Linked DNA regions of Homo sapiens: all the other regions are linked to region 1. The links are contacts of gene promoters, found by promoter capture Hi-C in human tissues and cell types (Jung and others, 2019). All regions are on one chromosome and are shown on one strand. The core of a region is centred on a gene start or on the middle of the fragment in contact, and the rest is flanking DNA. Distances in the headings are between cores, read along the strand shown.

Evidence for each region. The method cuts DNA at HindIII sites, captures the fragments that hold promoters and counts their contacts. A contact is called where the count stands out against the background at its distance.
Region 2: a contact is called between the fragment with the promoter of ZNF548 here and a fragment that was not itself captured in region 1, in 2 of the 25 tissues and cell types used here (aorta and stomach).
Region 3: a contact is called between the fragment with the promoter of ZNF17 here and a fragment that was not itself captured in region 1, in 1 of the 25 tissues and cell types used here (dorsolateral prefrontal cortex).
Region 4: a contact is called between the fragment with the promoter of ZNF773 here and a fragment that was not itself captured in region 1, in 1 of the 25 tissues and cell types used here (spleen).

The regions. Positions count from the first base shown.
Region 1 is chr19:56,381,824-56,389,075 of GRCh38, reverse strand. ZNF582 (zinc finger protein 582) reads left to right here. Exons shown (of 5, transcript NM_001320371.4): 5 at 3,892-6,325. The coding sequence ends at 5,213. It also overlaps the pseudogene SLC25A36P1. Among named protein-coding and RNA genes, the nearest start is that of ZNF582, 8.1 kb to the left of the region's middle. RefSeq lists an enhancer at 4,216-5,415. The HindIII fragment of the contact is 6,001 bases long and covers 1-5,490 here.
Region 2 is chr19:57,386,922-57,393,230 of GRCh38, reverse strand. ZNF548 (zinc finger protein 548) reads right to left here and starts at 3,377. Exons shown (of 4, transcript NM_001172773.2): 1 at 3,117-3,377. The coding sequence starts at 3,131. RefSeq lists enhancers at 3,120-3,599, 3,740-3,819. The HindIII fragment of the contact is 10,310 bases long and covers 1-5,190 here.
Region 3 is chr19:57,408,911-57,415,657 of GRCh38, reverse strand. It overlaps ZNF17 (zinc finger protein 17), which reads right to left and starts at 4,497. Exons shown (of 4, transcript NM_001330617.2): 1 at 4,252-4,497; 2 at 2,022-2,062. The coding sequence starts at 2,042. RefSeq lists a silencer at 3,798-4,000 and enhancers at 4,244-4,303, 4,384-4,493. The HindIII fragment of the contact is 3,744 bases long and covers 2,094-5,837 here.
Region 4 is chr19:57,494,879-57,501,766 of GRCh38, reverse strand. It overlaps ZNF773 (zinc finger protein 773), which reads right to left and starts at 1,829. Exons shown (of 4, transcript NM_198542.3): 1 at 1,654-1,829. The coding sequence starts at 1,686. ZNF419 (zinc finger protein 419) reads right to left here. Exons shown (of 5, transcript NM_024691.4): 5 at 5,669-6,888. The HindIII fragment of the contact is 9,164 bases long and covers 1-6,189 here.

The DNA of each region.
Region 1 (7,252 bases), core at 1,241-3,740:
TCAGCTGAGACATGGAAGGTGTGATGTAGCTGGGGAATACCAGTTGTAGCCAATGAGTGTGAAGGACCTGAGCAGGGAGCCCTTGGTACCTCTGAGATAATGGATGGCCCTTGTGGCTGAGGTCAGTGAGCAAAGGGAGGAACACAGAGATACACTAGGGGCCGGGCATGGTGGCTCATGCTTATAATCCCAGCACTTTGGGAGGCTGAGGCGGCCAAATCACTTGACCAGTCTGGCCAACATGGTGAAACCTCGTCCCGACTAAAATCACAAAAATTAGCCGGGTGTGGTGGCACGTGCCTATAATCCCAGCTACTTGGGAGGCTGAAGCAGGAGAATCGCTTGAACACGGGAGGCGGAGATTGCAGTGATCCGAGATCGAACCACTGCGCTCCAGCTGGGGCAACAGAGAGAGACTCTGTCTCAAAAAGAAAAAAAAAGATACGCTAGGAAAGGCAACCACGTTATGAAGTTTGGGTTCTGCACTGTGGGCAGAGGGAAAGCACTGTAGAAATAGAGGCAAGCCATGATTTTATGGTCCACCTGGAGAGGATATAAATATTGTGCTTCTCACAAATTATTCACCTGCTAGTTTCAGAAGTCATTGATAGTTTTCTCTTGGATCAGATATGATTAATAGTTACAAAATAGTGATTTTTAAAAAAACTTTATTCTTATTTATTAGATCACATACTCCTGTAAAGAAGAGCTTTCTCCCTTTCACCATTTGTTTCTTCATTTATATCATATGGATTAATAGTAGGTGGCATATTTTTTCTCATTTCCAGGTCAGAATAAAATAAATCTTGTTTTATCCTGTAACAGATTATTACCCATTATCATTATTTATCACAACGTTCATAGTTTTCCAGACTTGCCCAGTGACACCCTTTCAAACTGGCTCCTGGGTTCTTTGGACATAATCCCCCCCCCCTTTTTTTATAAGCACGTTTTTAACTTTTTTAGTTTCAACAATTCAGTAAAAGCTAGTTAACATAAATACAGAAGAAGTCCACACAATTGACATCCGTGTACATAAATGCAAGAATGCCAAACCTCACATGAACCAAAAAGTATCAGCTCTTACAATGTTGACTATTTAGCTATGACTAGTAGGTCATAAATCTTCGCATAAGCAAGGGTACACATTCAAATGTTTTTTAAAACTAAGAATAAAACAATTTTATGTTTCTAAAAGGAGAAGCATAAAAGTCAATCTGTCGAAGAACATAAGGATGTGATAGAAAAGAGATTTGCGTGGGCACAAAGTTAATACACTGTGTTAATACTTTTACATATTAAAATCCCTCTGCAGCCAGGCGTAATAACTCATGCCTGTAGTCCCAGCTACTCAGAAGGCTGACAGAGGAGAATCACCTGAGCCTAGGAGTTTGAGGTTGTAGTATAATATGATTGTGCCTCTGCACTCCAGCCTGGGCAACAGAATGAGACCCCATCTCCCCTGCAAAAAAGAAAGAGAAAGAGAAATACTTTGGAGGCAAACTTTATATAGAACGTTTGTATATAGTTTTTTTTTAAGTCATCAGTGTCATACTTAAACTAAAATGCAGATTGTGTTTTTGTCTCCAAACTGATTGTAATACTTTTGAGTCCAATCAAAACACCTCAGAAACATCCAGTTACTGTTGATTACAATAAATGTGACATGCTGACAGAATTTAAGAAGGTACAGTTTTTCACTGGTGAGAGCAGTAAAAGCTTGGTAATTTTCAATAATGTTGGGATCACTACAGTGAATAGATCTGCAGAACAACATATCTAAAACCCAGACAAATGTTAGGAATACTGGTTCTGTTGAATAAATGACCAATGTTTTTATAGAAATACGTAACATAGAATTCCCTCCTGCTCTTTCACCCTCAATAAATGCTATAAAGTGCATTCACAAAGAGCCATATTAAGATAAAGCTACTGCACAAAATACAGCACTCATATATACTGAAATGAGTAGTATCACACTGGAGTTTAATTGTGCACATTTTATATACCAGTATAGCAACATCCTTAGCCAGAAGTCTCAACAGAATTATCATGAACATAAACGTTTAAGGGTTATATACATATATCAATTTAAAGTATGAAAAGGTGCATTTGAACTTCATGGCAACATTTAAAAATGATATCCTTGTTAGCACATCACCTTGAATCTATGATGTATGATTCAGCAAATTAGGACAGAATCAAATTCTCAGCAAAAAGTACTTTGAGGCTGGGGATGGTGGCTCACGCCTGTAATCCCAGCACTTTGGGAGGCCAAGGCAGGCGGATTGCTTGAGCCCAGGAGTTTGAGACCAGCCTGGGCAATATGGCGAAACCCCATCTTTACAAAAAAGCACAAAAATTAGCTGAGCATGGTGGTGCCCACCTGTAGTCAAGCTATATCTGAGTCTCTTTAAGTCAACTGGGGTTGGTTGCTATAAGTACAGTAAAACCTGCCACTGTAGCTGAAATAATGTACCAGGTAGAATCACAGTCCATTATAGCATTCAGCTTTTTCATGCAGTTTGAATAATCAGCAAAGTATGTTGCTCTAGAAGGACCCACCCTCAATCAACTGGCCTAATCCTCTAAACAAGGAAAAAAGCCCTTCTTTTTCCAAGGTCACCTTTAAGAAATGAAAAGGTTCAGGTAAATGCATGACATTTAAGAAATTTAAGAAATGTCATTCAGTTGATAATGGGCTTCAGCCATGGCGTTCAACTAAACTTCAGATATAAAAAACACCATGGTGTTCAGCTAAACTTCAGATATAAAAAGCTTCACAGAGGAAGACAGCAGCCATGTCATTCTAACTTCTAGCGGACACATGAGAATAGCTGCCACTGTACCAGCATATTCCTCTGGTTCATTCTCCTGCATGTCCTCCAGGCACTGAGGCAGGTTGCAGATCCAACCACACACTTCCAACACCACTTTTATTTTTATTTTTTAAAACTGTGGTAAAATACAAGATTTACCGTGCTCACCATTTTCAAGTGTACAGTTCAGTAGTGTTAAGTACATTCACACTGTTGTACAACCATCATCACCGTCCATCTCCGGAACTCTTTTCATCTTGAAATCCCCATCATCTTTTTAAAATTCACTCTTTTGGGGGCATAATTTATGGTCAATAAAATGCATTTTTAAAATGTGCTATTAATGAGTGTTGACAAATTTATACACCCACATAACCATCACCTCAATCAAGATAGCGAACATTTCCATCAACCCAAAAAGTTCCCTTGTGCTCCCTCCTGCACAGTCCGTCAAACCAATGATTTGCTTTGGTTTCTGTCACTCTATATTTGTCTTTTCTAGAGTCTCACAGAAACATTTACTGTCTTAAAAAATATTGTTCAATAGTGATTCTGACCCACACCAACTCTTTTTTTTTTTTTTTTAAAGTCTCCCTCTGTCACCCAAGTTGGAGTGCATTGGCGTGATCATAGCTCTCTACAGCCTCTAACTCCTGGGCTTAAGCAGTCTTCTTTTCTCAGCTGGGACTACAGGCATGTGCCACTGCAGCTGGCTAATTTTTAAAAATTATTTTGTAGACATGGGGTCTTGCTGTGTTGCTGAAGCTGGTCTCAAACTCCTGGCCTCAAGTGATTCTCCCTTCTTGGCTTCCCAAAGCACTGGGATTACAGGCATGAGCCACCATGCCCAGCCCCACACTAACATTTTAGAATCACTTTTATAACCTCTCTTATTGCCTCCCTCATCTCATGTATGTTATTTTCCTTTCACTGTTCTACTTGTCCATTTTATAATTGCTTAGCTACATTCAAGAGTTAATAGGCATTGAGTCTAAACCCTCCAGTTCTTATTTTAGTTCCTTTATCTGGAAAAAAAAAGAAGCCAAACATATTCGCTTTTTTTCATTCTTAGTATTGGAGTCCAGATATGATACCAAGGAATTATTTCCAAAGCAGCATGTTTATGAAGTCGAATCACCCCAATGGGAGATAATGGAAAGCCTTACAAGTTATGGTCTTGAGTGTTCAAGTTTCCAAGATGATTGGGAATGCAGAAACCAGTTTGACAGACAACAGGGAAATCCAGACAGACATTTCCATCAGATGATCATCAGACATGAAGAAATGCCCACTTTTGACCAGCATGCATCCCTTACTTTTTATCAGAAAATTCATACTAGAGAAAAACCTTTTGGGTATAATAAATGTAGAAAAGACTTCTGGCAAAAGGAACTCCTTATTAATCATCAAGGAATTTATACTAATGAGAAACCCTATAAATGTAAGGAATGTGGGAAGGCCTTTAAATATGGCTCACGACTAATTCAACATGAGAATATTCATTCTGGTAAGAAACCATATGAATGTAAGGAATGTGGAAAGGCCTTCAATTCTGGTTCAAATTTTATACAACATCAGAGAGTTCATACTGGTGAGAAACCGTATGAATGTAAAGATTGTGAGAAGGCCTTTAGTCGAAGCTCACAGTTGATTGAACATCAGCGAACTCACACAGGCGAGAAACCCTATCAGTGTAAGGAATGTGGCAAGGCCTTCAATCGGATCTCACATCTTAAAGTACATTATAGAATTCATACTGGTGAAAAACCCTATGCATGCAAGGAATGTGGGAAAACCTTTAGTCATCGTTCTCAGTTGATTCAACATCAGACTGTTCATACTGGCAGGAAACTCTATGAATGTAAGGAATGTGGGAAGGCTTTTAATCAAGGCTCAACTCTTATACGACATCAGAGAATTCATACCGGTGAGAAACCCTATGAGTGCAAAGTATGTGGAAAGGCCTTTAGAGTGAGCTCACAACTCAAGCAACATCAGAGAATTCACACTGGAGAGAAACCCTACCAATGTAAGGTATGTGGTAGGGCCTTCAAACGGGTCTCACATCTTACTGTACATTACAGAATTCATACAGGTGAAAAGCCATATGAATGTAAGGAATGTGGGAAGGCTTTTAGTCATTGCTCACAATTGATTCATCATCAGGTTATTCACACTGAGAAAAAGCCCTATGAATATAAGGAATGTGAGAAGACCTTGAGTCATGATTCAACTACCGTTCAACCTCAGAGAATGCATAATAGAGAAACACATGTGAATATAATAAATGTAGAAAAGCCTTCCATCAGCAGTTACCCCTTACTAATCATCAGAGAATTTATGTTGGCAAGCAACCATATGAATGGAAGTAATGGGGAAAGCCCATTAGCCTAGGCTAATTGTGACTGTGACTTACTTCTCCCTCTTGGAGAAAGACTTGAAGAATGTAATGCCAGTGACAATGCCTTCATTCAGAGGTAAGCCTTTATCCTAAGTCTGAAAATTCATATCAAAGAAAATTTTATGGATGTAAATTGTTCAGATCATAATTGTCAAAAATGCTGGGAAAGGTTGGGAGAAATTTTATTTCTAACACATTCCAGAACCACATTTTCTAACCACAGTGTAGTAATTTTATCAAGAGCAAAAGTTATAGTTTTCTTACAAGTTAAAAAAACAGCCAGATTATCATTTGCTTAACAAAGAAATCATGCAATTACCATAAATGGTAATGAAAAGAATGAATTGAGAGTTTAACATGCCAAGAGATGTGAAATGTGGCCAAAGAGATGTGAGGGTAAGGGGAAAGCCAAAGCTACACTGGAGGAATTTTTATAGCCTTTGAATGCATGCATATACATGAAAATCTGAAAGATAAACTCATATGCACTAAACATGCTATTCAAGTCTACCAAACATCCAGGCAGTGAAAGAAGAAAGTAACAGAAAATGATGAAATAAAGAGACCATCTTACAATAATCTCAGTTTTTGTTTCTTTCTGATCCAGAAATAATCTAAATTTAGGAGAATATTTCTTAATTTCCACATTGTTACATTGTTTTATGTGACTGGCACAGACAACCATTGGTTGTCATCCCAGCAGCCATACCCAATTCCCCTTGTTATTGGCAGCATCTGTGTCTTGCCTTGGACTCTGAGAATATCAGATGCTAATTTTCCAGTCTCCTGTGCAGCACAGTATGGCCAGTATCTCCCAGTGTTGCTCAGTGGAATCTGCCGGGGCTTCTGGGAAAGATTTTCCTCATTCAGAAGAGACAGGTTTATCATGAAGACTTCCTCCTCTCTCACTTCCTGCTTTTAAACATTTTTATATAAGAACATGATGCCTGAAGCTGCTGCAGCTGTCTTGGAACCAAGAAGAGAAAAAAGTGGACCTCAGAGAAGCTGACCCAGAGCCTGAGAAGACTCAGCTACTAGGCCAATTCTGGAACTGCCTTTTTGATGCCTTGTTATCTGAGAAAAATAAAACTTGATTGCTCAGTTAGTTTTAGTTGGATATTTTGTAAATTCGCAGCCAAAAGCATCCTAAGTGATATAATATCTAATTTAATTTTATTATGGTTGGTAAATGTGGCCTGAAGTTATCTACTTTTTGAATTTTACTCTTTTTTTGGAGATGGAGTCTCGCTCTGTCACCAGGCTGCAGTGCAGTGGCACAACCTCTGCCTCCCGGGTTCAAGCGATTCTCCTGCCCCAGTCTCCCCAGTAGCTGGGACTACAGGTGCACGCTACCATGCCCAGCTAATTTTTGTGTTTTTAGTAGAGATGAGGTTTCACCATGTTGGCCAGGATGGTCTGGATTTCCTGACCTTTGTGATCCACCCGCCTCGGCCTCCCAGCACTTCCTATAAGTGCTGGGATTACAGGCATGAGCCGCTGTGCCACCCAGTTTGACTGTGTGTGTGTGTGTGTGTGTGGTTAAATACAAGATTGATTTCTGTATACCATGAACATTGAAAAAATATGTATTCTGCATTTTTGGATACAAGTTTCTAAATAAGTCCATTAAGCCACTAGATTGCAATAGTAAAAATCTCCATGTTTTCATATAATTTGGTATGCTGGATCAGAATTTCCTAAAAAAATGTTGCCAACACCTTGAGTTTCCAGACATTTACGCTTTTTAATTTATATTGTTTGACTTACAGGGACATACTACTAACCCTCTATTTATGAATTATACCTTTATCTTTACATAATATCCCATTTTGCCTAGTGCAGGGTATAAAAACCAAATCCAGCCCGCTACCTGCTTTATAAAGTCTGAGTGACACATTGCATTTATGGTCTACGACTGCTTTGGTTTCACTACAGCAGAGCTGAGTAGTTGCCACAGAGACTATATGGCCACAACACCTATATTTACTGTCTGGTTTTTTTGTTTTGTTTTTTGAGATGGCATCTCAAACTG
Region 2 (6,309 bases), core at 2,128-4,627, 1.0 Mb before region 1:
AGGTCAGGTACTGGTCCTTTCTGCAACCAGGTCTACCTGCTACATAATCTTCTAAAGTGAGCTTGCCAGGAGACCTTGGCTGGAGCAGTAGATCATCCCCTGTAGCCCTGACATGTAGAGAAGGGGAAAAAGCAGTGCTCTGATCTGGAACCCAGCTACTCCACCAGCCTCAATAACATTTCTCTTGTTCAACAGAGAGTGGCCCTGAGGGTCAACCAAGCCTGCAGGTGCAGGATCGAAACCACCTCACACTTCAGCCTCCATCCCAGGCCATATGCTTACCCAGTCCAGGCCTCCCTTTTTACAGATGCAATCCAGAATCCCTGTTATGCCAGGTCTGCACCGTTCTGGACAGAGTATGATGTCTGTGGAGCCACCAATGGTCTGGCCCCCAAGTCTCAGCCCCCTGTTCTCTCAACACAGAGCCCACCTGAAATGACAACCTCAAGATTTCCCTCAAATTAAGTCCATCTGACTTCAAATTATACTACAAGTTGTTAGTAACCAAAACAGCATGGTAATGGATAGAAATAGACACATAAGGTGTACAGCTCAGTGGTAAAGCATTTGACTGCAGAAATAGACACATAGATCAATGGAACAGAACAAAGTTCCTAGAAATAAAGCCACATATCTATAGCCAACTGATCTTTGAGAAAGGCAACAAATATGCACACTACGGAAAGGACACACTTTTCAATAAAATGTGCTGGGAAAACTGGATTGCCATATGAAAAAGAATGAATCTGGACCAATTTCTCTTGCCATATACAAAAATCAACTCAAGATGAATTAAAGATTTAAATGTAAGACCTGAACGAAGAATACTAAAGGAAAACTCAGGGAAACCCCTTCTGGACATTGGTCTAGGCAAAAAAATTCATGAATAAGACTTCAAAAGCATAAACAACATAAACAAAAGTAGACAGGACCTAATTAAACTAAACAGCTTCTGTATAGCAAAAGGACTAATCAACCAAGTAAATGTACAACCTGAAAAATGGGATGAAATATTTGCAAACTATGCATCTGACAGGGTACTAATATCCAGAATTTACAAAGAACTCAACAACAAACAAACAAAACATAACAAAAAAACAACAACAAAAAATCTCATTAACAGTAAGCACAGGGCTGGGCGCGGTGGCTCACACCTGTAATCCCAGCACTTTGGGAGGCCGAGGCAGGTGGATCACCTGAGGTCAGGAGTTCAAGACCAGCCTGGCCAACATGGTGAAACCCCGTCTCTACTAAAAATACAAAAAATTAGCTGGGCGTGGTGGTGGGCACCTGTAATCCCAGCTACTTGGGAGGCTGAGGCAGCAGAATTGCTTGAACTAACCTGGGAGGTGGAGGTTGCAGTGAGCCGAGATCGCGCCACTGCACTCCAGCCTGGGCGACGGAGCGAGACTCCATTTCAAAAAAAAAAAAAAAAAAAAAACAGTAAGCACAGGGCAGACATTTTTCAAAAAGAAGACACATAAATCGCAAGCAGGCATATAAAAAAATGCTCAACATCATTAATCATCAGACAAATTCAAATTAAAACCACAGTATCTCCTTACACCAGTCAGAATGGCTATCATTTAAATGTCAAAAAACAACTGATGTTGCCCAGGATATGGAGAAGAGAAAAAGGTTACACACTGTTGGTGAGAATGTAAATAAGTACAACCTCAATGGAAAACAGTATGAAGATTTTTCAAATAACTGAAAATAGAACTGCCATTAAATCCACCAATTCCACTACTGGGCATCTACCCAAAGGAAAATAAATCATTACATTAAAAAAAACATGTATTTTTATCACAGCACTATTCACAATAGCAAAGATAGGGAATTAACCAATTATCCATCAATGTATGACTGGGTAAAGAAAATGTGGCATATATATACACAAGGTAATACCACTAGGCCACAAAAAAAAAAAAAAGCATGAAACTATGTCTTTTACAGCAATGTGGATGGAACTGGAGGCCATTATTAAATGAAACAACTCAGAAACAGAAAGTCAAATACCAAATGTTCTCACTTACAAGTGGAAGCTGAATAATGTGTACACATGGACAAAGAGTGTGGAATGACAAACATTGGAGACTCCAAACAGGTAGAAGGATGAGACGAAGATGAGTGATGAAAAATTACTTAATGGATACAATGTACATTATTCAGGCGATGGATACATTAAAAGCCCAGACTTGACCACTATGCAAATATATCCATATAACAAAACTGCACTTGACTCCTTAAATTTATGCAAACAAACAAACAAAAAAAACCCGAGACCGACCTACTCAATCTGATCCTCAGACCATTCTCTGGCCCAGTCCAAGCCCTCCATCCGTCTGGTATCGCCAACCCAATCCCCTTCCTCAGACTCCACACCTTTATGTCCACCTGTCTGTGTGACATATCCATCTTGAGACATTTGAGAATCACCATGTCCAAAATCCAACCTGTGATCTTCTCCCGGAAATCTGCTCTTTATGCTGACTTCCCCAACTCCATTCTTCCAAACGTTCAAACAGAAAACAAAAAACAAAACAAACACTTGAAACGGTTCTTCACTGCCTTTGTTCAGACATAACTGAAGCACCAGGAAAACCTACGGGCCCTATCTTTCAGGCCTATGAAGAATCTCATCACATCTCCCTCTACTGTCACTGGTCCAGCCCCAACCATAATTCTCCTGGGTCTACTGCAGTGGCCTCAGGGCCTTTTCGCGTCTCCCTGTGTCCATTCCTAACCTGGTTTTCCTAACTTGAAACTTCGAACTCTGGACCTGCCCCCTCCAACTGTCCCTCCCTTGACAACCTTCCATGGTTACTGGCTGCTCAGGTTGCCATTCCAAGCGAGAATTCACAAAACCCTCTCTTTCCCGCAGAAACAACACACACCCCTGACGCCCCAACACAGCCCACTCGGCAGCGCCTCCATGCTCTGAACCTGAGGTCCCTAACGGGAGCTCTGAGGCTGCATCAAATCGGCTGATACGGGGACCCCACACAGGAACGCCCCTCTCTTCGGGACAAGGGGCCTGACCTGCAGGGCCCCTTCAGGGGGCTTCAGCACTGGGAGGACCGGTCGGGCGGGGGAGCCTGGGACGGGACACCCACCTCAGTCAGGTTCATCAGCAAGGCCTCCGCCAGCCCAGCCAGGGAAGAGCGGGGCGGGAGCGACAAAGGCAAGACAAGGACGCCACTGTCCCCAGCGCTTGTCAGTTGACTCACTCCCGCCTCTCCGTGGTGGGAACCGAGCCGCTTCTCGCGCTTTTCCGTTCCGTCACTTCGGTGACGTCAGACAGAGCCATAGGCCGAAGTTGGTGAAACACCACACAGAACCAAAACGACCACCACCAGGAGGACGGCGGAAGTCCCGCCCTCCGACGGTGCGCACGCACGCAAACGTCCCCTTCTAAGCCTTTATTGGGTAAGTCGTGCCGCCGAGAGCTGCAGTGTCTTCTGGGTTATGAAGTTTCGACACCGCTTCCGGACTTGTCTTAGAGCGTTGATCAGTCCTTATATGGCAGATAAAGGCCCAGTGGCACTGTCAGGGGAGCTGGGAAACGGAGTCCCCGACTCCAAAGACAGGAGGGGGCTTGGCTTGCTCTTAAAGGCAACATACGGTATTTTTTTGGATTGTAGTATAGGATATTTACAGAAATGTTAGCAACTTATTACTTAAGACTCTATTAAGCACAGCTAATTCCCAATAACTACAGGTCCAAAGAGACACCCCATACCATAAAGGCAGTCTGCCTCTACTCATGCCTGCCAGCCATATTATTGCTTTTCAAATACACATACAGTTACGCTTTGGCGTCTGTTTAGTAAGCTTCAATATGTTTGGTCCAGAAGAAGAAAGAAAGACTACGCAGTTAGGGCTATGGACTGGAATTTGTAGGAAGGATGACAGGAGACGCTGAAGTAGGTTGAAAGGGTGAAGCTATGCCTCTGGATCAAAGAGAATACATCTTACCTGACTGTAGAGTCAGCGATTGTGTTCCTACGAAGGGTGCAACGCTTTTATTCTAATAATACTTACTACTTCATATCTGAGATATTTTCCATTTATTTTAAGAATCACAATCCTATCTGAAAATGAGAGTGACGACCAAAATGAGTGATTGAGGCATAAGTCACAAATCATGGAGGATTACTGGACCAGCCTAAGGGCACATCCAGAAAAATGTAAGTCACAGAAGCATCTGTGGCTGGTTTTTCCAAAGAGGTTCTTAGGAGGTTTAGTATTTATTATACATTTTCCTTAAAAAGGAAGAGGGGTTGGCAGTGAGACAAATGATTACAGACATGTGAAACTTTAGTTAGTGCCCAGTAAATCTACATTTTACATAAGATAGAGTAAACACGTGAGGGGAAAAGGGAATAAAGAAGATGTCTCAGAGAAGGATGAAGGAATGAATAATCTCATCTTCTCTCTGTTCTGTACCTTGGAAGATAAGCTAGTAGTCTTCTGAAAAGGTTGATTTCTATTTAGCCCTTAGGGAAGAAAACCTAATGATTGTAGTGTGGTAGGGGATATAATGAGGTGTGTCTGATTTCCCGTTCCTCTATAGTGGTGAATTCAGCTTCCAAAGTTATTCTAGGGTTCTCATGGTCAAGAGGGCATCCATTCAGTCAGTTAGGGGGTGCTTAGAATTTTATTTTTATTTCTCAAGAGCAGCTGATACATGCCATTTCTGGACAACATTGTCTACCGTTTTCATAGTTGAAGCATATGCACATCTTATCCTCAAAAAAGGTGTGGAATTCCATGATGTTATCTTCTTCCTCAGAAGTGATTTAAAATTTCACCTGTGTTTACAACTGTATTTGCACAGGGAGTCGAAATGTGAAAAACACTTGTGAAATAAAAAAATTACCGAAATCTATTAGTAATTATGTAGGTTATTCCAAAAGAAAAAAAACCAGAAGCCCTAGAGAAATCGATCTGTAATGTGAGAAAAAGATAAGATCTCAATGTTTGAGTGAGAGACAGCAAATTCTGAGAAGTCAGAGAATGAAGTTGAACCTGTGGCTCTGCTGGACACTTGGACACACTATGCTTTTGTTTCCAAAATGTAATTTTTTTACACACTTGAAAACATTGCTCATTAACTGCTTAGAGGGGTAAGTACAGATGATAAACTGAAAGACTTGCCACAGATAAAAATGAATAGAGAAGCTGTGTGATAATGTGTATTTACTTCTCTAGTAAATGTTCAATGAGCACATATGTATTGGGTTTCAGATCAATGATAGGTGCATGGGACACACTGGGAATAGGTTTCCCAGCTGCTATGTGTATACAGGACTGTTCTATGTTTTCTTAGATTCTGTATTTGTCTGTTTGATATTCATTAATCACAGGGTCAAACTAATAGAACCAAAGTTGTTTACTTTTTTTCTTGCAAGCCACTTACTCAAGTGCATGAAACTCATATAAAACCCCCCAACCACAAACACTAAAATGTGTTTTTCCTTCCTGCCCATCGACGGTATCTCTACCTCATCATTCTCTGCCACTTTAGTTATAAAGACATACTTCCAGTTACTCTGTTTTCTCTTTCTGCTTTCCAGTCTCTGTATGTAATAAGGTTTCTTGTGGCCTGTGTGGTGTTCAGTGCCTCTTATTTCCAGGGAACTGTAACATTAATCTTTTCTTTTGATGGCAGTGTCCCCTCTGTGTCATTGCTAATTATTAATTAAGACCTGGGCACAGTTTAAGAATATGACCTATATATAACGATTTTTCCTGAATCCTGTATTGACTTATCAGAATGGCCTACATATCCTACATATCAGCTGGTTGTAATATATTACAAAGAATCACCAGTGGGAGACACATTTTTCTCAGACTGTAACTGGCCGTTAAATTACTCATTGGCAACATGAGTTGAAAATCATATCCTCACAAACAAATATCTAGATAATACTTATGATGTCTTAGTCCAGTTAGCGTTGCTATAAATGAATACCTGAAGCTGGTAATTTATAAAGAAAAAAATGTTTATTTGGCTCAAAATGTTGATGTGTGGAAAGTTTAAAATTGGGCATCTGCATCTGGTGAGGGTCTTCGGCGGGTTCTATTCATGGTGGAAAACGAAAGAGAGCTATAATGCGAAGGAATCATATTGCAAGAGAGGAGGACAGTGGGTGGGGAGTGTATCAGGCTCTTTTCAACAACCAGCTTTCTTGGGAACTAATAGAGTGAGAATTTACACATCTTCAAGTGGGGGTATTCAGGTAGGATCTACCCTCATGACCAGAACACCTCCTATTAGGCCCCACCTCAAACATTGGAAATTAA
Region 3 (6,747 bases), core at 3,248-5,747, 1.0 Mb before region 1:
CCTCATCTGTCTTTGTGATGCCCAGCAACCCCATCCAGGTGCCCAACAGAAAGATCCAGTCCTCAGCCCCTTCCTTCCCCTTCCTTCTCCCTAACAGCATTGCCTCCAGAATCTAAAGATGTCTATTCCTAAATCTGACCCACAGATTTACCATGGTGTACACGCTGGCTATCATATAGTAGATGTCTCCATCCTGAACACCTCCATTGAACTCCATTCCTGTGTGTTCAACTGCCAGTCTGGCACCTCTACTCGAGTCTCTGGAACATTTTTGACTTAGCCCAAACCTCGTTCTTCATATGCTCTATTAAACTCCCCCTACTACAAAATTTACCACATCTTAGTTGCTGGAACATCCAACCTTCTCAACAAGGCCAAAACAATGGGGCCATTCCTGACTCCCTCTTGCATCCTACCTCCCGAGCTTCCTCGCTCTGTACATCAAAAAATGTGAGCAGCTCTAGATCAAAACCTACAGAAGCCACCCACCCCTCCCACCTCCACAGCCGCCACTCGTGTCCAGCCACCACCAACCTCCACTGGACTGTGGCAGGAATTATCACCCAGGTATCCTTGGTTCTTCCCTAACTCTCACTCTGTCCTCCATTCTGCAGGCAGAGGAAGCCTCTTAGAATCTAGGTCAAATCTGGCTGGGTGCAGTGGCTCAGGCCTGTAATTCCAGCACTTTGGGAGGCTGAGGCGGGCAGATCATGAGGTCAGGAGATCGAGACCATCCTAACACGGTGAAACCCTGGCTCTACTAAAAAATACAAAAAAAAGTTAGCCGGGCATGATGGCAGGTGCCTGTAATCCCAGCTACTTGGGAGGCTGAGGCAGGAGAATGGCGTGAACCCAGGAAGCGAAGCTTGCAGTGAGCCGAGTTCACGCCACTGCACTCTGGCCTGGGCGACAGAGGGAGACTCCGTCTCAAAAAAAAAAAAAAAGAATCTAGGTCAAATCACCTCTTTTTTCTTTCTCAAACCTTCCCTAGCTACTACCCCCCTCAGATTAAAGACCTAGAACCACTGGGCACGGTGGCTCATACCTGTAATCCCAGCACTTTGGGAGGCTGAGGCAGGCAGATCACTTGAGGCCAGGAGTTCGAGACCAGCCTGGCCAACATGGTGAAATCCTGTCTCTACTAAAAATACAAAAATTAGCTGGGTGTGTTGGTTCATGCCTGTAATCCCAGCTACTTGGAAGGCTGAGGCAGGAGAATTGCTTGAACCTGGGAGACAGAGGTCGCAATGATCCGAGATCACATCAATGCACTCCCGCCTGGGCGACAGAGTTAGCCTCTGTCTGGAAAAAAAAAAAAAAACAAGGCCAGGTGTGGTGGCTCAAGCCTGTAATCCCAGCACCTTGGGAGGGCCGAGGCAGGCAGATCACGAGGTCAAGAGATTGAGAACATCCTGGCCAACATGGTGAAACCCCATCTCTACTAAAAAATACAAAAATTAGCCGGGCATGGTGGCGGGTGCCTATAATCCCAGCTACTCGGGAGGCCGGGGCAGGAGAATCGCTTGAACCAGGAAGGCGGAGGTTGTAGTGAGCTGAGATCGCGCCACTGCACTCCAGCCTGGAGACAGAGCAAGATTCTGTCTCAAAAACAAAACAAAACAAAAACAAAAACCTAGACAACCTCAGGCTGCCATTCCATGCCTGATCCCTGCATGCCCCGACCTCCTGCCCTGCTGCTGTGCTCCTTATCCTTGCCAGCTAGAACATTAAGCTACAGTTCTCTAAGCATCCCATCTAAGTCTCACCACCAAGCATTTGAACATTCTAGATCCTGTGTTTGAGATGCCTTGCCAAATCTCAAACCATCAGTTGTGAGAACTAGAACCACTCTATATAACCAGGCACTGAGTTTGGAACCCAGGTCTGGTGGAACTACAGGCTCTCCTTGGACCCAAGGGAGAGAGAAGAAAAGGTGAACAGTCTCAGGATAACACCATTCCCTATATCAGCATGCTGAAACCATCTGGGATGGGTGAAAGCTGGAAACACTCTCCACTCACCTGTCCAGCATCCATAAGCATTGCTGCCACTGCTATGAACCCTGTGGGAAGAGGCAGGCCATGAGGATTAAGACAGCATTGCAGCATCCTACAGGCTGACTGTACAACCACCTCTGGCCCTGCAACTAGAGCAAAGTTATCTGAGGGTACACAGTAAGTCCTCAGGGTTCAGTGTCTTGATGAGGACTGAACTTCCTTAAGTCTCGGTGCCCTTATGTGTAAAATAGAGATTAAAAGGATTGCCAACTAATAGGGCTTATATGGGCATCAAATATAAGTAGTACACACTATGTATCAGCAATTTCTTTCTACTGGATTAAATATTTTTTACATGTTTTCGGTACAAATGACATGGAAGGGTTTTGAAATTTTGGGTGTGTATTTTTCCCACTTCTTACGGTGTTAAGGAAATGTGATACATAAAACTTTCCATTGCAAGCAAATAGAAAAATTAACATTCAGCCGGGCATGGTGGCTCAAGCCTCTAATCCCAGCACTTTGGGAGGCCGAGGTGGGCGGATCACGAGGTGCAGAGATCAAGACCATCCTGGCCAACCATGGTGAAACCCTGTCTCTATCAAAAATACAAAAATTAGATGGGCATGGTGGCGCATGTCTGTAATCCCAGCTACTCGGGAGGCTGAGGTAGGAGAATCGCTTGAACCCGGGAGGCAGAGGTTGCAGTGAGCCGAGACCACGCCACTGCACTCCAGCCTGGCGACAGAGCGAGACTCCGTCTCAAAAAAAAAAAGAAAAAAGAAAAATCAACATTCAACAATTATTAAGTGAATAAATTTAACTATTGGTTACATTCATTTCTAACTGCCGACCTATGTGTACATATTTAGAAGGATACTGGTTCATTAGTGGTTAAATAAATGTTTTATACATTCGGCCGGGCGCGGTGGCTCATGCCTGTAATCCCAGCACTTTGGGAGGCTGAGGCGTGCAGATCATGAGGTCAGGAGATAGAGACCATACTAGCTAACACGGTGAAACCCCGTCTCTACTAAAAATGCAAAAAATTAGCCTGGCGTGGTGGCGGGCACTTGTAGTCCCAGCTACTCGGGAGGCTGAGGCAGGAGAATTGCTTGAACTCGGGAGGCGGAGCTTGCAGTGAGCCGAGATCGCGCCACTGCACTCCAACCTGGGCGATGGAGCGAGACTCTGTCTCAAAAAAAAAAAAAATGTTTTACACATTCATAAATAAATAAGTTGCAGGGAGGGGATAAGCAAGCAGGTCAGTTACTGGTCCCATCAGCAACCAGGCCTGCCTGCTACAAATTCAGTTGCTGGAAGCTTGCTGGAGGCCCTTGACTAGATGTGAGAAAGCCCTACCCCCGTCTGGACCCAATGTCCCCACTAGTCTGGATGACCTTCCTATTGTTCCACAGAGTGGGCCTGGGGGGCTGCTGGGTCTGCAGGTGCAGAAATCTAAACCACCTCACACCTCAGTCTCCAGCCTAGGCCAGTTCCTTAACCCATTCAGAACTCCGTTTTTGCAGATATGAGCCAGAATCCCTCCTATGACAGGTCTGCGCCTTTCTAAAGGTAGCGTCAGGCTTATGGACCCACCCATGATCTGCCCTCCAAAACTCAGCCCTCCAAAATGCAACTCATAATCCTCTCTGAAACCTGCTCCCTAAGCTGACTTCTCCAACTCCATTCTTTCAGATTTTCAGGCCAAAACAAAATCCATGGAATAGACCCTTCACTACCCTCACTGCTACATTTGATGCAGCAGGAAATCCTGTCGACTCTATCTCTGAGATCCATCCAGAATCTCATCACACTTCCCCTCTACTGCAACCCCTCTGGCCCATCCCTACCATAACTCAAGGGGTCTCCTCAGCGGTCCCCTTGTCCTGGTTTAACATCCTGTTTTTCCCAACTTTAAACGTCTACCTCTGGGCATAACCCTTCCTGCACAGCCTTCTACGGCTTTCAGCAGCTCCGCTGCCCTCCCAGGCGAGACTCCGCCTCACCCTCAGCTCCGTGGAGACAAAGACGCTCGGGCTCCCCAGTGCCGCCCGCTCTGCAGCACCTCTAAGCCTCGCACGTGCAGGTCCCTGACAGGAGCTCCCCCGCCTCACAGCACCGCGGACACCGGTACCCCACACAAGAACGCTCCTCTCTTTGGGACACAGGGGCCTGACCTGCAGGGCCCCTCCTCGGGGCTTCGGCACTCGGAGGAGGGATCGGGCGGGGCGCCCTGGGACGCGGCACCCACCTCAGTCAGGTTCATCGGCGCAGCCTCCGCCAGCACAGCCAGGGAAGAGCGGGGCGGGAGCGGCAGTGACCTGGACGCTGACAGAGGCACCAACGCCTGCAACCGATTCAACCGAGCCTCACTCTAGCCTCTGTACAACGGGGAAACCTTTTCTCGCGTTTTTCCGCTTTTTCACCTCAGTCTCGACTCAGCCTGAAGGTGAACAGATCCCAACGCAGCCATATTGACAACCCCAGGAGGCGTTGCAGGAAGTCCCGCCCACACGCATTGCGAACCCCCGTAGACGCCGCTCTGCTAGGCCTTCATTGGCTACACTCGCTGCTTGTGTCCGCCGCTGTGTCTTTTGGGTAATGTAGTTCCCAGGCCACTGCCTGCCCCGCTTCTGAACTTAAGTTAACTCGCGTTCAGGATGAAAGCCAGGAGGATCCTCCTGAGGCTTTGAGAAATGCAGTTGCGGGGCTCCAAGGACGTGGAGGGGCTTCATTGGCTTTTAAACGGCAAGCATCCAGATTTTCCCGGAAGGCAGTCTAGAACAAGTCAGAGAAATGTTTCAGAGACCTGTCCTTTCAGATTCTGTAAAGCACAGCAAGTTCCCAAAAGACGAACATCCGAAGGAACATGGCCAACCATAAAGAACTGGTCTTCCACGCATAGCGGTCAGCTCTTTTGTGCTTGCCAAATACACACAGAACGAAGCTCTGGAGACTGTTTTATGATCTTCAATGTGCTCTGCTGGGCACATTGAAAAGACCCAGACATGGCATGATGGGGAGTTTGAGGAGTAATATCTTTCCTTTCTGAATAATCAGTTATTGTCTTTCAGCCTACCCAGCAACACTTTATTCACATGATACTTATTACTTTATATCTGAGATATTTTCCACTTATTTTAAGAGACTGAAACCTAACTGAAAAGGAAAAGCGACTTATCTACCATTATCTGCCAGAATAGTGTGGCCTTCCACCAGTCAAAGCCCTTGTGCAAAGAAAGCATCTTACTCCTGAGATAAAGGTTTGGGAATGCATGATCTCATCTCATTAGTGGAAAGTGATTTATCATTTCGCCTGAAATTGTATCAACAGTGTCTGCACAGGGAGTTGAAATTGTCTCTGAATAACTCTTGTGAAATGGCTATTACTGAAACTATTAATGACGATTATGTAGATATCCAAAGAAAGTGGCAAAAATAGTTATAGAGAAACATATTTGTGATAGGAGGAAAAAAGCTAAGGTTGTCCTGGAACCTTGGACACACTCAAGTTTGGTGTCCAAAATCTGATTCTTTTTCAAACTTGAAAACATTGTGCATTAACAGCTTGAAGGGAGAGGTAAAGACTATATATTAAAAGAGTTACCAGAAAAGTAAAGCTGAATAGGGAAACTGTGCTGTCGTATTTATTACTCTAACATATTTGATGAACACTCATTCGATGCCAGGTACAATACTAAGTGCATGGGACACATTAGGAGTAGGGTTGCTAGCTGTCTGTGGTCCTCTAAGACACGTAAGACGTATTTAATGAATTAGTCCTCAGTCCTGTATTGACCTTGTCAGGTCACTTTAAATGTCCTGTATTCCGCTTTTTACAATAAATTACAAAACCTCAGAAGTTAGAGCTATTTTTCTACCACTATAATTGTAAATTAAATCACTTAGCAGCTATGTTAGCTGAAAATCATACCCCCACAAATAAAGATATGGACATAGTCTTGTGATCTCTCCTGCAGAATTGGTGAGGGAAAAATAAAATGGAGCACTGAGATATTCAGTAAAGGAGAAGACTGTTTTTTGGCCAAAGTCTTGAAATTTGGTTTATCAAATTACAAAAAGAAGGAAGGAAGGAGAGAGAAAGAAGGAAACGAAAGGAAAAGAAAAAACCACCCAACTGAAGGTCTGGAAGAGTTAAAGCTGTTCAGTAGTGCCAGCTACATGGAAGTTAAGACGGGAGGATTACTTGAGTTCATAAGTTCAAAACCAGTTTGGGCAATATAGTGAGATCCCCGTCTCTGAAAAAACTGAAAATTAAAAACATGTTAATCATTTACCAACAATACATCCCTACCATCCTACAATTCTATTTCTAGATATTTACCAACAGAAACTAAACAAACTTTTTTTTTCTTTTTTTGAGATAGAGTCTCTCTCTGTCGCCCAGGCTGGAGTGCAATGGCACGATCTCGGCTCACGGCAACCTCTGCCTCCCAGGTTCAGGCGATTCTCCTGCCTCAGCCTCCTGAGTAGCTGGGATTACAGGCATGGCCACCACGCCTGGCTGATTTTTGTACTTTTAGTAGAGACGGGGTTTCACCATGTTGGCCAGGCTGGTCTTGAACTCCTGGCCTCAGGTGATCCACCCGCCTCAGCCTCCCAAAGTGCTGGGATTACAGGCATGAGCCACCTCGCCTGGCCCAAACATCCATCTAACACTTGGTGACAGGCCACATATCTTTGTGTATGTGTATGTATATATATATATATATATGGAGAGAGGGAG
Region 4 (6,888 bases), core at 580-3,079, 1.1 Mb before region 1:
TGGTCTATAACTAACTCTGAAGTCACAAGAACCTATGGAAAATCAAGACCATGAGAACCAGACAGTGATGTTACCAAAGGATCATCCAAGCCCCCTCGTCTAGCCTGGAGTCAGGTGTGCCTGACTATCTGCAATCTGGGCTTTGGTTCTTAGTGATGCCTCTTACCTGTTGTGTGCCCTTGGAAAAATGCTCAACTTCCCTGTGCCTTGGTATTGCCATCTGCAACATGGCAATAATGGTATTCACTCAATAGGACTATTGTTTGTATCAAACTCATTCTTATGTGTCTAGGACTAAATATCAACTCTTACTGTACACATAATTAATGCTTCTGTCAACATTTTCAGTGCAAATAAACTGGTAGGTTTTCAAAATGTGGGTTTCTGCCTGGGTGCAGTGGCTCAAGCCTGTAATCCCAACACTTTGGGAGGCCGAGGTGGGCAGATCACAAGAGCAGAATTCTGTCTCAAAAAAAAAAAAAAAAGAAAGAAAAAGAAAGACAATGTGGGTTTCCTTTTGGCAATCTGGCTGCCTGCTATATACTCCCCTGAAGACCATCCTGCTGAGAGCCCTCCCTTCTACTGGAGCAGTTGATCATCCCACCTGTGCTGATAGCTAGGGAAACTTAGGCACCAAAGGTGCTGCTCCACCAGCCTGGCTGACCTTTCCTTTTCTCCATATGGACTGGACATGAGGAACTACTAAGCCTGGAGTGGCAAACCTATATACTACCCAACACTGCGGTCTCCATCCAGTCCTGGGTGTTCATACTCTATAACCCTCCATTCCTGCAGGCACCAGACAAAATCACTTCGGACCACGAAACTCCAGGCTGTAGAGGCTGCCCCATCCTACAGGCCCATCTCTCCCTTCCCTCACCTCAGGGACCATCTGAAAGAAAACTTTAAGATTCTCCCTCCTAAATACGAGCCCCAGGCCTTCCAGCTGCTCATGTGGACATGACACCTCCACTCTGGGACATCTCAGGATCACCATGCCCAAAACCTATTCCCTGCACAGCCTTACCCATCTCCATCCTTCCTGATATTCAGGAACAAACAAAAATACAAATAAAAATCCAGAATGGCTCTTCATTCCCTACTTTCTTTCACAGTCACATCTGATGCAACAGGAATTCCCGTCTGTTCAGTTTTTGAAATCCATCCAAGATCTGATCACTTCCCCTCCTCTGTGGCCCAGTCCCAGTAGACTCTCCACTAGTCTACTGAATTTACCTACTCACAGGTCTGTCTTCACCCGCCTCACCCCCACCCCAGTCTGTTTTGACTTGAAGGGCCTTTGGCAAACTTTGAGAAACAGATCTTGTCACTCTTCTGTCTCCAGCCCTCCGCGGCCACTGTGGCCCCCTCAGGATGAAAGCGCAGCTGCTCGGGCTGTCGCTCGACACGCGCCTCGTCCCTTCCCAAGCTGCCCACTACAGACACCAGGAGGCCTCAGGTTCGGGACTCGCTGAATGCGCCTCACATCTTTGCGAGCCGGGCCCCTTGCCCTCCATTGCCACCCCATCACACTGCGTGTCAGAAACGGGACGCCGCCCACGAACGCCCCACAGTTCTGCACCCGGGGACCTGAGCAGGCGGCCCTCACAGGGCTTTAGGATTCGGGGGAGGCCGGGAGGACGCGGCGCTCACCTGAGCGGGGTCCCTCAGCGTGGCCGCCGCCATCGGAGCCTGTGGCGGTGAGACAACGACCGAGGAAAGGGCCCGGGCCACCCTGGGCGCCGCCACCGAGCCTCAGACCCGCCTCTGAGCTGCGAGAACACAGCGCGTCCCCACCGCGCTTTCCGGAGCTGGTCGCCGCAGCGAACAACCAGCTTCCGGCAAGCTGAGTTCTCTTGAGGGCAGCGAAAGCAACCGCCGAGGGGAGACGCCGGAAGTCCCGCCCATTGCGCGTCGCACTCTCGGGTAGACCTCTTTTCATTGGCCAAGCATCGCGGCTCACGGCGCGGCGCCTTCTGGGCAGTGTAGTTCGCGTGGCTCCAAACTTCGAGGAAGTGGGCATAACTTCGGAGATGGAGATTGGAGACGGTAGATGATGGAGATGGAGATGGAGATGGAGATGATGGAGATGATGGAGATGGAGATGATGGAGATAGAGATGATGATGGAGATGGAGATGATGGAAATGGAGATGATGAAGATGGAGATGATGGAGAAGATGGAGATGATGGAGAAGATGGAGATGATGGAGAAGATGGAGATGGAGATGATGGAGTAGGAGATGGAGATGGAGATGATGGAGATGATGGAGATGGAGATGATGGAGATAGAGATGATGATGGAGATAGAGATGATGATGGAGATGGAGATGATGGAGATGGAGATGATGGAGATAGAGATGATGATGGACATGGAGATGATGGAGATGGAGATGATGATGAAGATGGAGATGATGGAGAAGATGGAGATGGAGATGATGGAGTAGGAGATGGAGGAGAAATGAGTGTCGAGAACTCTCGGACTCATCTGGAACCTGTTGTAATTGGAGATGGGCCTGGATTTCAGTTTCCTGCAGCTGATACTCCAATCTTTCCTTCTTTTGAAGGACTTGAAGAGGATCTTCAGGGCCACCATAAAGAGGTTTCACTGGGCAAAGCCACGTATACCTTCCTAAATTTCCTTTGGCAAGGGGACACCCAATATTAATGCCTGATGTATGATAATAAGAAAAGGCTCTGAATTCTGGATGTAGGTGATGAGAGAGTAGGGGAGCCCAAGGATTTACGTTCCTCTTTCACCCCATTCTCATTTGTGTTCTTTCCTTCCTCAAGGACCCAACATTGGTGTAAAGGCACAACAACAGGCAGCAAACCCATAAGCCAACTCCCCCTCAATTTCTCCCCTTCATCCATTTCTGCTCCATATTCCTGTCACAGTTACTATGGGACTGAACGAAGGGGAACGAATGCAGAAATGAAAACAAAGGCAAAATAAATCTGTTTTAAAGAAGGGGTCAGGGGGCTTCTTGCTTCTAGTGAGGAAGGGCCCTGAGCTTCCACAGACCTTCATATTTATTGGGTAGAAAGAGTAGGGAGGTGGTGGCTTACGCCTGTAATCCCAGCACTTTGGGAGGCCAAGGCGGGTGGATCACAAGGTCAGGAGATCGAGACTATCCTGGCTAACACGGTGAAACCCCGTCTGTACTAAAAAATACAAAAAATTAGCCGGGTGTGGTAGCAGGTGCCTGTAGTCCCAGCTACTCGGGAGGCTGAGACGGGAGAATGGCATGAACCCGGGAGGTGGAGCTTGCAGTGAGTGGAGTTCATGCCACTGCACTCCAGCCTGGGCGACAGGGAGAGAATCCGTCTCAAAAACAAAAAAAAAGAAAAGAAAATATCGCTCTGGTTTTGTAATGATAAAATAGAACCTACATATATTTTGTGTTATGCATTCTTGGCATACCTATTTCAATGAATTCTGGTTTTTTGAAATTGTCTCAAATATTCAAAAATTTTTTCCAGTATATTTATTGAAAAACATTCACATATAATTGGACCTGTGCATTTCAAACCTGTGTTATTTAAGGGTCAGCTGTACTGTCATGAAACCACCAACACAGTCATGATAGAGAAAATTACCATTGCCTGATAACGTTTTCCTGTACTCTTTCAGTCAGAACCTTCCCCCTCAGACCGCAGGCTCAATAACCAGTGATCTGCATTCTTTTACTCTAGTTTTGCAGCTTCTTCATTTCATATAAATGGAATCATACTGTATGTCAACTTTTGTGTCTGGCTTCTTCCACTTGGCTCAGGGATTTTCAGATTTATCTATGATATTTTTACTTGTATTCATAGTTTATTCTTTTATGTTGTTGAATGGTATTTTATGTTAAGATATACCATAATTGATTATTCATTCTTCTGTTCACGGAAATTTTAGTTTGTGTGTGTGTGTTTTAAAAACAAATTCTGGTGTTTGGGTTTTATAAATAAAACTGCTGAGCATGCAAGTGTAAGTATTTCTAGAACATATGCTTTTGTTCTCTTGGGGATATCCCAATAGGTAAGATTCCTAAACTATATGGTAAGCTTATGCTACCTTTAAAGCTGCTACACTGTTTTCTGAAGTTGTTTTACTACTTTTGCAACTTTCTTGAAAAGAGATTGACAATAGAGTGTTGTGTGAGTGTATTTCTGGGTTCTCTGTTCTCTTCTGTTCATCTCTGTCCTTTAGCTAATACTGTACTCTCAATTACTGTACGTTTGTATGTCCTAAAGTCATAAAGATTTTCAAACTTATTCTTATTTATAAAATTGTTTTGGCAATTAGTCCAGGCCCTTTGTATTTCCATGTAACTTTTTAGAATACATTTGTAAATTTTTATTTAAAAGATTAGGTTTTTATTAGGATAGTTAAAGGAAAACTGACAACTTCAAAGTATTAAGTCTCAGATTCAGGAACTTCTTGTGTCATTTATTTATGCCTTGTTTAATGTCTCTCAGGAATGTTTTAAAGTTCTTGAACATATTTTGTTAAATTTATTTCTAAATATTTCATATTTTTATGCTATTGTGAAGTACATTTTTTCAGTTGCCAAGCATGTATTTGCTAGCTATATACCAACCTAGTAGAGACACCTACTTTTTATACACTGGCCTTTTTATCTTAGGACCTTGCTAAACTCAATTATTAGATCTAGTAGCTTTTTAGTAGATAATTTCGAATTTTCAACATTATCATGTCATATGTAAATACAGACAGTTTGGGTTCTGCCTTTACAATCATTAGATTTTTTTTTTAATGAGAAGTGATGAATGTTGACGTATTTATGTTATTCCTAATGTTGGGGAAAATCAGCTTATCAAATATTTGATCACATATATATCAAATGTGCTGTTAGCTGTTTTTCATAGATGTGCTGTATCAGGTTGAAGAAATCACCATCTTGTTTAATTTGTTGCATGTATCATAACCTAGTTTTGAATTTTGTAAAATGCTTTTATTACATTTTGAGATTTTCATTTTAGTCTGCTAATATAGATTAATAAAGAGTTTGAATTGTTGAATCAAACTTGTATTATTGATAAACCTCACTAGGTTATGATTTATTATTGTTTGTATATGGCTGGATTCAATTTGCTAAATGTCTTTTTGTTTTGTTTTAGCATGAGTGCAAGTTTATTTAAAAAGGCTTTAGAACAGGAAAGAAAGGCAAGTATGCTTGGAAGAGACCCAAGGGGGTGATTTGAAGGACGAGTGCCTCAATTTGCTAAAATTTTCTTAAGGCTCTGTGTCTATATTCATGTGATTATTGGTCTATAGTTTTGTTTAATGTCATTGCCTGCTTTAGTGTCCTGTTAATGCTAACTTTCATATAGTCCAGAATTCTTTGAACCTTTGTCCTCTTGGAAGTTTGTATACAATTGGTATTACTTCTTCCTTTTTCATAAAAGTTCTTATATATCCTAGGAATGACCCTCAGCTGATGCCATCAAGAAAAAGGAATCTCAGTCCTACAACCACGAAGAACTTAAATATGCTAACAACTGAAATAAGCAAGAAACAGATCCTCCCTGAGACTCTAGAAAGGAACATAATCATGCCAACACTTTGATTTTAACCCAGTGAGACTTCTGTTATATTTGTGTTGTTTAAACCATAAGTTTGTGGTGATTTGTCAGGATAGCAATAAAAAGCTAATATGTCAACATTATTCTGTGAACATTTATTTATTTTCCAATGCAGTATTTCCTCAAATCATGTTGTACCTTTTCTGCCACAACTTGAAAACAGCCTCTTCTCTAAGGAGTTCTGGTTCCTTTTATTAAAAAATGATATAAACCAATAACTGGGTATTAAATGTGCTCAAAACTACTGGAATGCCATGGCTTGCTAGGCTCTCAGTAAAGATAGGGAATATGTACACATTTATCTATATATTGAATTATTTATTTGTAGTTAAACCTACAAATATTTCAGAAGTTGGATATTTAAAAAGATTCATAAGATTACAGTAGCATACTCACATAAGGCTTTTTTTTTTTTTTTTTTTTTTTTTTTTTTTTTTTTTTTTTTTTGAGACAGAGTCTGGCTTTGTGCCCCAGGCTGGAGTGCAGTGGCGCAATCTCGGCTCACTGCAAGCTCCGCCTCCCGGGCTCACACCATTCTCCTGCCTCAGCCTCCAGGATAGCTGGAACTACAGGCAGCCGCCACCACGCCCAGCTAATTTTTTGTATTTTTAGTTGAGAGGGAGTTTCACTGTGTTAGCCAGGATGGTCTCAATCTCCTGACCTCGTGATCCACCCGCCTTGGCCTCCCAAAGTGTTGGGATTACAGGCGTGAGCCACCGCACTCAGTCAAGGCTTTTATTTATAGGCAAAGATATGGTATAGTAAGAGGATGCAACACCAAATGCACAATGAATAAAATAACAAATGGATAAATTGGGCTCCATAAAATTAAGACAATCTGCTCTAGGAAAGATACTGTTAAGAACTGAAAACAAGGCCAAGCATGGTGGCTCATGCCTGTAATCCCAGCACTTTGGGAGGCTGAGGCAGGATGATCACTTGAGGCCAGGAGTTAGAGACTAGTCTGTGCAACATAGCACGACCTCATCTCTAAATTTTAAAAAAGAAAAGAAAACAAAAGCCATGGACCATGAGAAAATATTGACAATGCTTATATCAAATAAGGAATTTGTCTCCAGAAATATTAAGAACTTGTAACCAACCAAATGTTTTAAAAAACAGGCAAAAAATACATTTGACTAAAGAAGATATATGGGTGACAAGTAAACACATTAAAAAATGCTCAAAACTGAGTCATCGGAAAAATACAAATTAAGAACTACAATGAAATACTACTTCACACTTAGTAACATGGCTAAAATGAATGGCCTATGACTTCTACACATATAAACTG